Regions from separate parts of the Homo sapiens genome. Here regions 1 and 2 are each linked to region 3. Evidence: promoter capture Hi-C in human tissues and cell types (Jung and others, 2019). All regions are on one chromosome and are shown on one strand. Each heading gives the region's core, a stretch centred on a gene start or on the middle of the fragment in contact. The rest is flanking DNA. Distances are from core to core; before and after follow the strand shown.

Evidence for each region. Contacts are between HindIII fragments. The study calls those that stand out against the background at their distance.
Region 1: a contact is called between a fragment that was not itself captured here and the fragment with the promoter of TTLL10 in region 3, in 11 of the 25 tissues and cell types used here (H1 embryonic stem cells, IMR-90 fibroblasts, bladder and 8 more).
Region 2: the fragment with the promoter of RNF223 here is called in contact with the fragment with the promoter of TTLL10 in region 3 in 5 of the 25 tissues and cell types used here (IMR-90 fibroblasts, lymphoblastoid cells, mesenchymal stem cells and 2 more).

Annotation. Positions count from the first base shown.
Region 1 is chr1:1,107,620-1,112,213 of GRCh38, forward strand. The region is part of intron 1 of C1orf159 (chromosome 1 open reading frame 159); the gene reads right to left. Among named protein-coding and RNA genes, the nearest start is that of C1orf159, 6.2 kb to the right of the region's middle. RefSeq lists an enhancer at 4,170-4,594. The HindIII fragment of the contact is 6,974 bases long and covers 1-4,594 here.
Region 2 is chr1:1,072,817-1,076,938 of GRCh38, forward strand. RNF223 (ring finger protein 223) reads right to left here and starts at 1,490. Exons shown (of 2, transcript NM_001205252.2): 1 at 1,200-1,490. RefSeq lists an enhancer at 1,183-1,682. The HindIII fragment of the contact is 34,324 bases long and covers 1-4,122 here.
Region 3 is chr1:1,172,384-1,176,925 of GRCh38, forward strand. It overlaps TTLL10 (tubulin tyrosine ligase like 10), which reads left to right and starts at 1,497. Exons shown (of 16, transcript NM_001130045.2): 1 at 1,497-1,543; 2 at 1,902-1,938; 3 at 2,041-2,106. TTLL10-AS1 (TTLL10 antisense RNA 1) reads right to left here. Exons shown (of 2, transcript NR_173246.1): 2 at 673-4,013. RefSeq lists a silencer at 1,647-1,736 and an enhancer at 3,214-3,732. The HindIII fragment of the contact is 14,261 bases long and covers 1-4,542 here.

The sequences.
Region 1 (4,594 bases), core at 916-3,415, 64 kb before region 3:
AATCAGCTCTCTATAAAATGGACCAATCAGCTGTCTGTAAAATGGGCCAATCAACAGGATGTGGGTGGGGTCAGATAAGGGAATAAAAGCAGGCTGCCGGAGCCAGCAGCAGCAACCCACTCGGGTCCCCTTCCACACTATGGAAGCTTTGTTCTTTCGCTCTTTGCAATAAATCTTGCTGCTGCTCACTCTTTGGGTCTGCACTGCCTTTATGAGCTGTAACACTCACTGCAAAGGTCTGCAGCTTCACTCCTGAAGCCAGTGAGACCACGAACCCACCAGAAGGAAGAAACTCCAAACACATCTGAACATCAGAAGGAACAAACTCCGGACACACCATCTTTAAGAACTGTAACACTCACTGCGAGGGTCTGCGGCTTCATTCTTGAAGTCAGTGAGACCAAGAATCCACCAATTCTAGACACATTAGCAGCACCATTCACCACAGCCACCATGTCTCGGCAGCACCATTCACCACAGCCCCATGTCTCAGCACTGTTCACCACAGCCACCATGTCTCAGCAGCACCGTCCACCACAGCCACCATGTCTCAGCACCGTTCACCACAGCCACCATGTCTCAGCAGCACCGTTCACCACAGCCACCATGTCTCAGCAGCACCGTTCACCACAGCCACCATGTCTCAGCAGCACCGTCCACCACAGCCACCATGTCTCGGCACCGTTCACCACAGCCACCATGTCTCAGCAGCACCGTCCACCACAGCCACCATGTCTTGGCACTGTTCACCACAGCCACCATGTCTCGGCACCGTTCACCACAGCCACCATGTCTCAGCAGCACCGTCCACCACAGCCACCATGTCTCGACACCGTTCACCACAGCCACCATGTCTCAGCAGCACCGTCCACCACAGCCACCATGTCTCGGCAGCACCGTCCACCACAGCCACCATGTCTCGGCACCATTCACCACAGCCACCATGTCTCGGCACCGTCCACCACAGCCACCATGTCTCGGCACCGTTCACCACAGCCACCATGTCTCAGCAGCACCGTCCACCACAGCCACCATGTCTCGGCAGCACCGTTCACCACAGCCACCATGTCTCAGCACCATCCACCACGGCCACCATGTCTCAGCAGCACCGTCCACCACAGCCACCATGTCTCGGCAGCACCGTTCACCACAGCCACCATGTCTCGGCACCGTTCACCACAGCCACCATGTCTGCAGCAGCATTGTTCACCACAGCCACCATGTCTCGGCACCATCCACCACGGCCACCATGTCTCAGCAGCACCGTCCACCACAGCCACCATGTCTCGGCAGCACCGTCCACCACAGCCACCATGTCTCGGCAGCACCGTTCACCACAGCCACCATGTCTCAGCACCATCCACCACGGCCACCATGTCTCAGCAGCACCGTCCACCACAGCCACCATGTCTCGGCAGCACCGTTCACCACAGCCACCATGTCTCGGCACCGTTCACCACAGCCACCATGTCTGCAGCAGCATTGTTCACCACAGCCAAAAGGTGGGAGCAAGTGTCCACCCACAGATGAATGGATAAACAAAAGGTGGTCTATACAGACCGTGGAATATTCTACAGTCCTGAAAAGAAATTTTGGACGCATGCTACAACAGGAATGAACCTTGAAAACACTATGCTAAGTGAAAGCAGCTCATCACAACAGGACAAATACTGTATGATTCTACTCATGAGGTTCCCAGGGTTGTCGAATTCATAGAGACAGAAAAGACAACGGTGGTTGCCAGGGGCTGGGGGGCAGGGAGGAATGGGGAGTTAGTGTTTAATGGGAACAGTTTCCTTTCCTTTTTCCTTTCCTCTTTTCTCCTTTCTTTCCTTTCCTCCTTTTTAAAATTTCTTTCTTTCTTTTAGAGATGGGTTTGCTCTGTTGCCCAGGCTGGAGTGCAGTGGTGCAATCATAGCTCACCGCCATCTTGAACTCCTGGGCTCAAGCAACTCTCCCGCCTCAGCCTCCCAAGTAGCTAGGACTACATGCCTGCCACCATATCTGGCTAATTTTATTTTTATTTTTTGGTAAAAAGGGTGTCTTGCTGTGTTTCGCAGGCTGGTCTTGAACTCCTGGGCTCAAGCGCTCCTCTCTCCTGTCTTAATGCATGTGTACTAGATAAACATGCATGTAACGCAGGACCCATGTTCACTGAGAGGTGAGATTTCACATTTACATGTAAGACAATTAGGCCCTATATGGCCAAAGGTGAGGCGCGGCCCGGGAGTCACTCCAGTCACATCCTCCATAGACCAGCAGAACCAGTCCGTGGCCAGTGGTGTCTTATCAGGAGGAAGTTATGGAAAGTGACGCTGTAGTTATGGCCGTGAAATGGGGGGTCAGTTAGTGCCTGGCAGCGAGCCATCACTGTTTCCATACCGCTTGTCTCAGGCCAGTGCCTGCTTAACTGCTAGAGGAAAAGAAAACCCAAGCCTTATTCTTTAACTGTAAGGGTGTGTGACTTAACCCCGGCCTGGCACGGCCTTAGGTCCTGATTATAACTCGGCGTCTTATTGCCGCAGAGTCTGTCAGTCTCGTGATCTCCACTTTAACACTAATGTTGGTCAGTTGTGTCTAAACTGAAAAAGGGTGGCAGTATAACCAGGTGTGTCCAACCTCCCATCCTTTTATGGCCGGAAACTCAATTTTTAAGGTTTCTCTGGGGTCCCCTTGACCAAGAGGGAGCTCGTTCAGTCGGCGGGGGACTTAGGATTTTATTCTTAGTTTACAACATCAGTAATAAAATTAATAGGCAAATCAAAGAATGGGAGATAGTCACAGTACACGTACCAGACAAAAGCCCTGAATATGGAATATATAAAGGACTTTCACAATCTGGTCATCAAAAAAATGGGCAAAAGACATCCTCGGACACTCAGAAAACGTGTGCGAATGGCAACAGATGAGTGGACAGTGCTCAACACGGGTGAGCGTCAGGGAAATGCAAACTAAAGCCTCCACGACCAAACGGCACTCAGCCTCTCGGCTGTGGGGACACACAGAACCGCTGGGACTTCCACACCTGGGATGCAGCCTTCCCCCCGGGCACGTTCCCAAGAGAAACAACACACGCCCGCCAAACACGTGCACAAAAATAGGCCCAACTCTTCAGACAGCGGAAACCCACCCGGGCGCCCTCAGAGACGACGAGCACGCAACAGCGCATCCCACACCCACTCCTTGTGCAGCACCTCAGAGGAAGCTCAACAACAGTTCTCTGCGTGAGCCGTGGCAGACGCAAAACCGCCCGCACGTGTGACTCCTAACACTCAGAGTGTCGGTAAAATCACAGCAGCGCTCCTGTCTGGCGCGGCAGGCGGGCGCTGGAGCAGCCTGCGAGGCAATCTCCATGGATCACAGGCAGATTCTACATCACGACAGGAGTCTGGTGAATCCTTTGTCAAAACAATTGAACTGGACACAAGCTCTGTGTGTTTCACTGCATGTAAATTATGCCTTAGTAACTAAACACATGCATTTTCTATTTTGAAAATCTCATTGGAGCCAAAAAGCTAAATAATGGGATGAAAATTTCTACAAGGCAATGAAAAATTTAGTGAGAATTTAAATTGTGCTATACACTCTTTGACCACTCTTATTTTCCCTTAGAAGAACTGGTTTCAGGGCAGGTGTGGAGGCTCAGGCCTGCAATCCCATCATTTTGGGAGGCCAAGGTGGGAGGATCGCTTGAGCCCAGGAGTTCAAAACCAGCCCGGACAACAGAGTGAGATCTCATCTCTACCAAAAAAAAAAAAAAAAAAAAATAGCTGGGCTTGGTGACGTATACTTGTGGTCCCAGCTATTTGGGAGGCTGAAGTGAAAGAATCTCTTGAGCCTGGGAGGTCAAGGCTACAGTGAGCCATGATCGCACCACTGCACTCTACCTGGGCGACAGAGCCAGACCCCGTCTCAACAACAACAACAAAGAACTGGTTTCAAGAAAAAAATGATGCCTCAGGTCACTGTGATTTTAAATAAGTAACATCTTGCAAAACAACCCTGTAAAAGCAACCACCGGCTGGGGCAGTGGGTAGACCACACCCACGCTCACCGTAACTCCAGCCGCCCAGGCAGCAGTAACTGAAAAGGGGAGGCGGGAGGGTCCACTGGCGGGTTTCTCACGCTGCTGAACCTCGGTAAACACAGCCCCGAGGGCTGGCTGGAGCTTCCACTGCATCCGTGTAGCTAATGCTGGTCATCTTCGTAGCAAGCAAAGGAAGCCAACGTGAAACGTAGCTTTAAGGGCCCAATAAGAACTGTCTGGGGCCTCTCTACCTAAAGATCCCTCTCGTGCTTTGATAGAAAACAAATACCGCAAACCCCTTGATGGGGTGTAAAGGAGACATCCCCCTTTGTTGACATGCATGGTAGTCGCTGCCCACCTACCCGTGGGCTCAGCACACCGGAGTCGGGCGGTTGCCGTAGGTGGCTCAGCAGACGTGAGCAGGGCAGGATCGGGCCCATCCCCCCACCGGGAATGTCAGGCCACCATCAGGTGATGGTCAGGTGGCTGTTAACTGTCTAAAAGAACTGGTTGCACCCAGCGCCAGGGAAAGACAGGCTCCCAATAGCTAGAAAACACATGAAATCC
Region 2 (4,122 bases), core at 240-2,739, 100 kb before region 3:
GAATGCAGGCCGTGTGTAGGGGGGTCTCACTGACCGCTCGGCAGACACCTCCTGTTGGCCCTGCCCCACCTGGCTGGCCCTGCTGCCCGGGCAGAAATAATGGTGAGGATGACAATAGCCACAGTCGTCACTGTTTATGTCGGAGCTCTGCAAGGCTGGGCCCACATCACGGGACTCACACAACGCCACAGTGTGGAAAAGGCCGCCCAGAGCATGGGTGACTCGGCCAGGGCCACCCCAAGGGAGCTGGCGGGCCCTGGACCCTGGCAGATACGGCTCTCAGGCAGGCCAGGGACTCCAAGTCAAGTGAAGTGAGTTTGAACTCAGATCCCAGGATGGGTGCCTGGCTTGGGCGGTGCAGGCCTGATTTGTAGGCAGCTATGTGAGGGTGGGGTGTGGGGGTCTCTGGGTCTGGGGACCGGGCTGAGCCCCGGGGGCTTTGGGACGACAGGGAGGGCCCAGGCAGGGGCAGGGGTCAGTGCCCGAGGAAGGTGCACGTCAGGCACGACCTGCGGCCTGCGGGGCCGGCTTGTCTAGCTGCTGAGGGTCTGATGTGCACAGTGTGGGGGTGGGACTTGGATAAGCCCAGCCATTCCCTCTGGGCCAGCCCACTGCCTCATGGTCAGGTGATGGTCAGGGCACCCTCAGCCGCCCACTGAGTGGGTGTTTCTTCTCCCTGACCCAATCCCACTTCATGGCAGGGACCCTGGGGGACGGACACTGGGGGATGCTGCTCTGCCCCTGGGCATGGCTCAGGTGGGCATCTCAGCTGACCTGGGACCCTGCTCCACCTCCCGCCCCTCCCCTGCACCCAGGATCCGCTGCAGGGAGCCACAGGGGTCCCACCTGGAGGGAAGTGGGCAAGGGTGACAGTGAGACTCAAGGGCCTGGCCGTGCGTCCCCGTGGGGCCCAGGAGGCTGCCCCAGAAGTGACTCCTGGCACTGCCCCGCCCCACCCCTGACTTGCCAGTGAGTCCCAGACAGGCTGGCGGGATGACACAGGTCACTGTGACCACCTGAGTCACACGCCGTCACTGTGAGGCCGTGAGTGCCCCAGGCACCGGGACCTGGGGACTGTGCTCTGCGGCCTGTGTACCCCACAGAACCGGTTCCTTGGCACGAGGCCCCACCCCTCCACGATGGTGCCCCACCCTGAGCCTGTGCAGGTAAGGGGTGAACACGGGCTGAGCTGGCCTTACCTGGTGGCCGGGGGTCAGCGGGCCTGGGCGTGGTCCTCCTCGCCGGCCACGGTTGGGCTCCAAGGCCCTGGGCTGCCCTGCCGTGGCAGTGTCTGCTTCCTCTTCTCCGGGCCCGGCCCGGCCTGTGCTTCACCCAGCAGGTATCCCTCCCCGGGGCCGGCCACCAGCAGCTGTCCCGGTGGCACTGGTCTGGCAGGTGTGGCTTCTGCTCTGTCCAAGACAGGCGGGGACACAAGGAATGCGTGCGCCGTCACCCGCACAGAGCTCTGGTCTGAGGCAGGTGTGAGTTGCTGGGTGTGGGCTCCCAAGCAGGTCTATTTATACCCTATGGGCCAAGGGTGTGGCCGCAAGCCTCAGGGATTGGCTGGCTTCATCCTCTCCTTGGCGGGCCAGGCAGCTGGAGGGCAGGGAGGGAGGGGTGAGGGTCGGAGCCGGGTAGGGGTCAGCACAGCCGCTGCAGCCTGGGCAGGTCTGGGCTGGGGTGTGTGCTTGGACAAAGCCCTCTCTCCCTATAGCCCCAGGAGGCTGGAGCACCTGCTGGAAGCTGCTCACCGCAGTTCCAGGTCCCTGTGGCCCCTGAGCTCCTGGGTGGGCCTCCTAGCAGGGGCCCTCCCCGAGCCCCCCACAACCTATGCCCAGCCTGCCCCTGCCCTTTGCTCACTGCTGCCTGCCCTCACAGCCCATTCCTGCCACTTCCCTGCCCACACCCACCCATGTGCTCACCTGCCTCATCCATACACATACGTGGCTGCTCTCACACATGGGCCATGTGTTCACACGCTCTATGCCCCCGTGTCCACAGGCTCTCACACACGTGCCGTGTCCGGAAGCTCACATATGCCATGTCCACACTCACACACGCCGTGTCCACACTCACACGCCGTGTCCACACTCTCACACACATGCCATGTCCACATGCTCTCACACACGTGCCCTGTGTCCACACACACACACATGCCATGTCCACATGCCCTAGCAGACTACAGGACTGGTCTGTGCAAAGACCAGGGCTGGAGCTGGTTGAGAGTCTGGGGGCTGAGGCTGGCAGGGCTGGGATGGAGGATGTGTGGGTCTCAGAGGAGCAGCCAGTGGCATGGGCTGCCCCGTCCCCCGCACACCCCGCTGTGGGCCCGAGGGCCTGGTGTAGAGCTGCACCCCCAGGCTGTCCAGCTGCCAGCTCCCCACCTCACTGAGGCGTCTCTCTCCCAGCCCAGTGGACCTCATGCAAGGGGAGGTCCGACCCGGCTGCCACAGCCCCATCCCCGCCATGAGGCCTGGGCCGGACCTGAGCTGGGACTCCACACACCAGCCTGGGGGGGTGCCACACTGGGTGGGGCTGGGAGTGAGGGACCCACCCTAGTGGGAGAGCTGGCCGGGCCACCCCACAGACTGCCCTCAGGCAACTCCCATGCAGGTGCCCGCCGACCCCTCAGTAGGGACCCAGAGGCTCCCCCAGGGCTGCCGCGGGCATCCTGGAGCCCAAGGGATGCTGGGAAGTGGGAACCAGGACTGCAGAGGCCAGGGGGCAACACCCCGAGGAGGAGCACAGGGACTTGGGCTCAGGAAGGGCCGGACCCCTGCCAGTTCCATGAGGACTCTCAGTCGGGGGTTGGGGGGACCCCTGCCAGTTCCATGAGGACTCTCAGTCAGGGGTTGGGGGGACCCCTGCCAGTTCCATGAGGACTCTCAGTCGGGGGTTAGGGGGGTTCAGAGAGCGGATTTGGGTGCTCAGACAGGGAGGGGTGGATGCTCAGAGAGCGGGGCGCGGGCTGGGGCTGGGCTTTCAGACAGGGAGGGCTGGGGACTCAAGAGCTGGGGAGGGGTGGGAGCTCTGTGAGGGGCTCCGTGCGGGGTGGCTGAGGCTATGGGAACTCTGTGGGGGGAGGCTGAGGCTATGGGGACTCCGTGGGGGGAGGCTGAGGCTATGGGGACTCCGTGCCGGGAGGCTGAGGCTATGGGGACTCCGTGGCGGGAGGCTGAGGCTATGGGGACTCCGTGGGGGGAGGCTGAGGTTATGGGGACTCCGTGCTGGGAGGCTGAGGCTATGGGGACTCCATCGGGGGAGGCTGAGTCTATGGGGACTCCGTGGGGGGAGGCTGAGGCTATGGGGACTCCGTGCCGGGAGGCTGAGGCTATGGGGACTCCGTGGGGCAGGCTGAGGCTACGGTGACTCCGTGCAGGGCTGTGAGGCTACGGGGACTCCGTGGGGGGTGGCTGAGGCTACGGGGACTCCGTGGGGGGAGGCTGAGGCTACGGGGACTCCGTGGGGGGAGGCTGAGGCTACGGGGACTCCGTGGGGGGAGGCTGAGGCTACGGGGACTCCGTGCTGGGAGGCTGAGGCTATGGGGACTCCGTCGGGGGAGGCTGAGTCTATGGGGACTCCGTGGGGGGAGGCTGAGGCTATGGGGACTCCGTGCCGGGAGGCTGAGGCTATGGGGACTCCGTGGGGCAGGCTGAGGCTATGGTGACTCCGTGCAGGGCTGTGAGGCTACGGGGACTCCGTGGGGGGTGGCTGAGGCTACGGGGACTCCGTGGGGGGAGGCTGAGGCTACGGGGACTCCGTGGGGGGAGGCTGAGGCTACGGGGACTCCGTGGGGGGAGGCTGAGGCTACGGGGACTCCGTGGGGGGAGGCTGAGGCTACGGGGACTCCGTGGGGGGAGGCTGAGGCTACGGGGACTCCGTGGGGGGAGGCTGAGGCTACGGGGACTCCGTGGGGGGAGGCTGAGGCTACGGGGACTCCGTGGGGGGAGGCTGAGGCTACGGGGACTCCGTGGGGGGAGGCTGAGGCTACGGGGACTCCGTGGGGGGAGGCTGAGGCTACGGGGACTCCGTGGGGGGAGGCTGAGGCTACGGGGACTCCGTGGGGGGAGGCTGAGGCTACGGGGACTCCGTGGGGGGAGGCTGAGGCTACGGGGACTCCGT
Region 3 (4,542 bases), core at 247-2,746:
CTATGATGTGGTTGTCTTTTGGGGGCACCACCAGCCCCCTGCAAGGGGACCCTAAGCACAGAGGCCCTCGTGACCCACGCAAAGCTCTGAAGGACACGGATGGGTAGGGGACACGTGGCTGGAGGCTCAGAGTTTGAGGCAGAGGGGATCAGACCGTGCCATGGGTCATGCCAGGAGCCCAGGACTCCCAGACCTCGTATCATTAGGTGTTTTAAAGAGAAGGCGAGGGCAGGCCAGGCGCAGTGACTCACGCCTGTAATCCCAGCACTTTGGGAGGCCGAGGCGGGCGGATCACCTGAGGTCAGGAGTTCAAGAGCAGCCTGGCCAACATGATGAAACCCTCTAAAATTAATAATAAATTAATAATAAAATAATTATAATAATATAGAAAATAATATATAAAATAATAAATATATAAAATATAAAACAAAATAAAAATAAAAAATAAAATTAATATTAAAAATACAAAAATTAGCTGGGCACTGTGGTGGGCACCTGTAATCCCAGCTACTCGGGAGGCTGAGGCAGGAGAATTGCTTGATCCTGGGAGGCGGAGGTTGCAGTGAGCCGAGACCGTACCATTGCACTCCAGCCTGGGCAAAAGAGTGAGACTCCGTATTTTGAAAAAAAAAAAAGAGAGAATGTGAGGGTTAAACAAAGACACACAGAGATGGAGAAAGGGCAGCCTTACATCAACACGGGTACATTGCAAACACCTGCAGAGGTGGGGGACCAGCTGGATGCCAGAGCCCACTGCCGCCTACGGGCTGGGGTGCCTATAGGTATGGGTGGGAGCGGCCCGGGCCACACGGCTTCAGGATGAGGCCGTTTGTTTGGCCCTTGTTCCCGCAGAAGGTAATCGTGATGTTCCTCGGTGTTTTTCCCCGCAGAGTGTTCAAGTCAGGTGTCGGGCAGGCTGTTCCTCACGGCCCAAACCCCTGCGGAATGCTTCACTTTGGCCGAGGTCTGTGACACAGCGAGGGGCTTACAGAAAGGTGCAGTTTGGACCGATAGATGTGAGTCCCCCTCTGGGGGGCACTCACTTTGTGGAGCCCCCGGTTCCTGTTTGCAGAGGGGGGCACAGTGGCACCTCGTCCGCTGTGGAGTGAGAACAGGGACCCGACCACGTGAAGCACAGAGAATGCTCAGGGATCGGCAGCCGTGTATCCAGCCAACATCACCAGGGTGCACGCAGAGCCTGGCCCGGGCCAGGTCCTGGGGTGCTGAGCATGGGTGGGGCCTGAGAGACGGCTCAGGGACCATCCTGGGAGGGCCGGGCGGAGGGGCAGCAACTGGGGCTCAGGCTCAGGCAGTCCCAGCAGTGACTGGGAGGCAGCTGTGCCCATGAAGCTGTGCCCTTCTCCAGCCTCAGCCCTCAGCCCGGCTTCCCGGGCTGGCCCCGCCACTCAGCAGCCCCTCCCCATCCTCCGAAAACCCAAGCTCACCTCTGGGTTCCGGCTGGGTGGGGGTTGCCAGGAGACGGTTGCCAGGTCACCACTGTTGTTTCCTGGCCCAGGCTCCCAGGACCTTGTGGGCTGGGCAGGTAAGAAGCGCCGGCGGCCACCAGCTGGGGTCCAGTGGGCTCGGCCCCGCCCTCCTACGCCCTGCCTGCGGGTCCCCTCGGGAGGCTGCTCAGGAGAGGAGGAGGCTGGGGAGGGGACTGGACAGGGATCGGGTAGGGTGGGGCCAGGCTGAGCCTGCTCTGCGGGTCCCGGACCCCAGCGCCACCGTGCGAGAGGCTCGGGTCCAGGCCAGGCCGGGGAACGGTGTGTGTACCCGGTGGGGTGGGAGGGCTGGGCAGCCCTGGGACGAGCTCCGTGGCCTGGGACCAGGTCTGCCTCCGCAGAGCAAGTCCTGGACGGACGGCTGCTTGAGCCCACAGGTCGTGCGTCCTTTGACAGCGGCCTCCGGCCGGGAGGCACCAGCTCTTCGAACAATGTCAGTACCTTCCTAGGGCCCCACGTGGCCAAGCTTGGATTCTGGGGGGAGAACTCGCAGCAGGACACTAACATGTGGTCGCTTTTTGGATGATTTCTTCAGGTTTAAAAGTCTCTTCTGTTCATCCTACCGGGGTGCCGTCTCCTGCCGGTCTTTTCATCTCACCAGGTAAAACGCTTATTTTACAATTTATTGTAAGGTCGTGCACCAAGTTTCCACGCCGCCTTTACACCGTGTCCCCACCGAGGGGCGTCACAACCGTCCTCCACACCGGGCGTCACCGGCTTCCCAAGTCCCACCGCTATAAAGGACACGTCAGTCAGCATCTCGGAGTGAGACGCTTTCCTTCTGGATTCAGAATCGCGTCCGTCAGAGACTCCAAAGCACATTTGCTAGATCGACAGGCGTGAGGAGCCAGCGGCTCCCGGCGCTTGGGAGGCTGCGTCCCACCTGCATTCAGGCCCCGGGTTCACCACACACACAGCGGGCAGCTGCTTAAGAAACCTTTGATTTCAGTCCGGGGCGGTGGCTCACGCCTGTAATCCCAGCACTTTGGGAGGCCGAGGTGGGCGGATCACGAGGTCAGGAGTTTGAGACCAGCCTGGTCAACATGGAGAAACCCTGTCTCTACTAAAAATACAAAAATTAGCCGGGCATGGCAGCAGGCGCCTGTAATCCCAGCTACTCAGGAGGCTGAGGCGGGAGAATTGTTTGAACCTGGGAGGCGGAGGTTACAGTGAGCCGCGATTGCGCCATTGCACTCCAGCCTGGGCGACAGAGTGAGACTTCGTCTAAAAAAATTAAAAAAAAAAACACCTTTAATTTCAATGACAAGAAATAACAGCTCACAACTTATTTAGTTATTTGTGAACATCATAAGGACATAAAGTTAGAAAAGCCCAAAGGAGGCCTCAGGCTTACGATGAAATCAGCACCTGGCTGCCTCTTCCAGCTGCTGCTTCTTCTGCAGCAGAAGAGACGGAGGCAGTTTCCTGGGTGGGGGGGTGGGTGCTGTGCTTCCGCTTTCTAACTGCCTGTTTCCAAAAAGCACCTGATGCTGCTGCTTCTGGAGCTTCCAGTGCAGAAATTCCCCGTGGACGGTGAAAGGGGCTTGTCTTCCACACGCTGCCCTGTCCATATCATCCCGGCACGAATGATGTTTGGGGCAGAGCTGCCCGGCCTCCCCGGGTGGTGCCCATTTGTTTTCCTCAGAGTTGGCGATCGCCTTGCTTTTCACATGTGCTTGTGTTCCCGCCTATCCTGAGCTGTCCCTGAGCTCTCTGCCTCCCGTCACCCCCACAGTCACCATCACCACAGCCCTGCAGACTGCGCAGTGTGTGGCGGGTGCTGTCCTGACATTACATGTGGAAACTCCATCTTTGCAGCAACCCTGCGAGGCTGCTGCTCCCAGCTGCTGTGCAGGTGGAGAGAGGCTGCTGTTGTGCAGGTGGAGAGGCTGCTGCTCCCAGCCGCTGTGCAGGTGGAGAGAGGCTGCCACCGTGCAGGTGGAGAGAGGCTGCCGCTGTGCCGGTGGAGAGGCTGCTGCCGTGCAGGTGGAGAGAGGCTGCCGCTGTGCCGGTGGAGAGGCTGCTGCTCCCAGCCGCTGTGCAGGTGGAGAGAGGCTGACGCTGTGCAGGTGGAAAGAGGCTGACGCTGTGCAGGTGGAGAGGCTGCTGCTCCCAGCCACTGTGCAGGTGGAGAGAGGCTGACGCTGTGCAGGTGGAGAGGCTGACGCTGTGCAGGTGGAGAGAGGCTGCCGCTGTGCAGGTGGAGAGACTGCTGCTCCCAGCCGCTGTGCAGGTGGAGAGAGGCTGACGCTGTGCAGGTGGAGAGAGGCTGACGCTGTGCAGGTGGAGAGAGGCTGCCGCTGTGCCGGTGGAGAGGCTGCTGCTCCCAGCCGCTGTGCAGGTGGAGAGAGGCTGACGCTGTGCAGGTGGAGAGAGGCTGACGCTGTGCAGGTGGAGAGGCTGCTGCTCCCAGCCGCTGTGCAGGTGGAGAGAGGCTGACACTGTGCAGGTGGAGAGAGGCTGACGCTGTGCAGCTGGAGAGAGGCTGACGCTGTACAGCTGGAGAGGCTGGGGCACACAGTCATCAGGTCAGCTGCAAGCTCACAGCTGCTGCATCTTTTCCCTGACAGCTCACTCCTGTGAGAGTCTTCCAGGCTTCCCGGAGGGACGGATGTCTCCTCACCTTTTCCCACCTCCACACCTTTTCCCACCTCCACACCTGGTAGGCCAGGTATGGAATTCCTGGAATTCCCGGCTGGGAGCCTCCTGGGCCGGTTCCAGCCCTGTGTGTCCCCAGGAAGGCTGGAGGGCTGCTAGTGGCCTCGGTGGGCACCCAGGGCTGGCCAGGACCACACCTCCTTCCTCCGGCTCTGTGCCTGTATCTCCCCGGGCCTCCCCTCTCGCCTGGGGCTCCACGGTGACCCTGCTGTGCGGCACCTCGGATTTACACCCACAGTCCCATCCCCAGGGTTCCCTTCTGGGCAGTTTCCTTGACTTAAATCCCAACCCCGGTGTTGCATTTTTAATTCCCACCGGCTCTTTTGTATTCTCTGTGCCTTTGCTTTAAAAGCACGCGGCTCTCTGAGGGGTCCTGTCT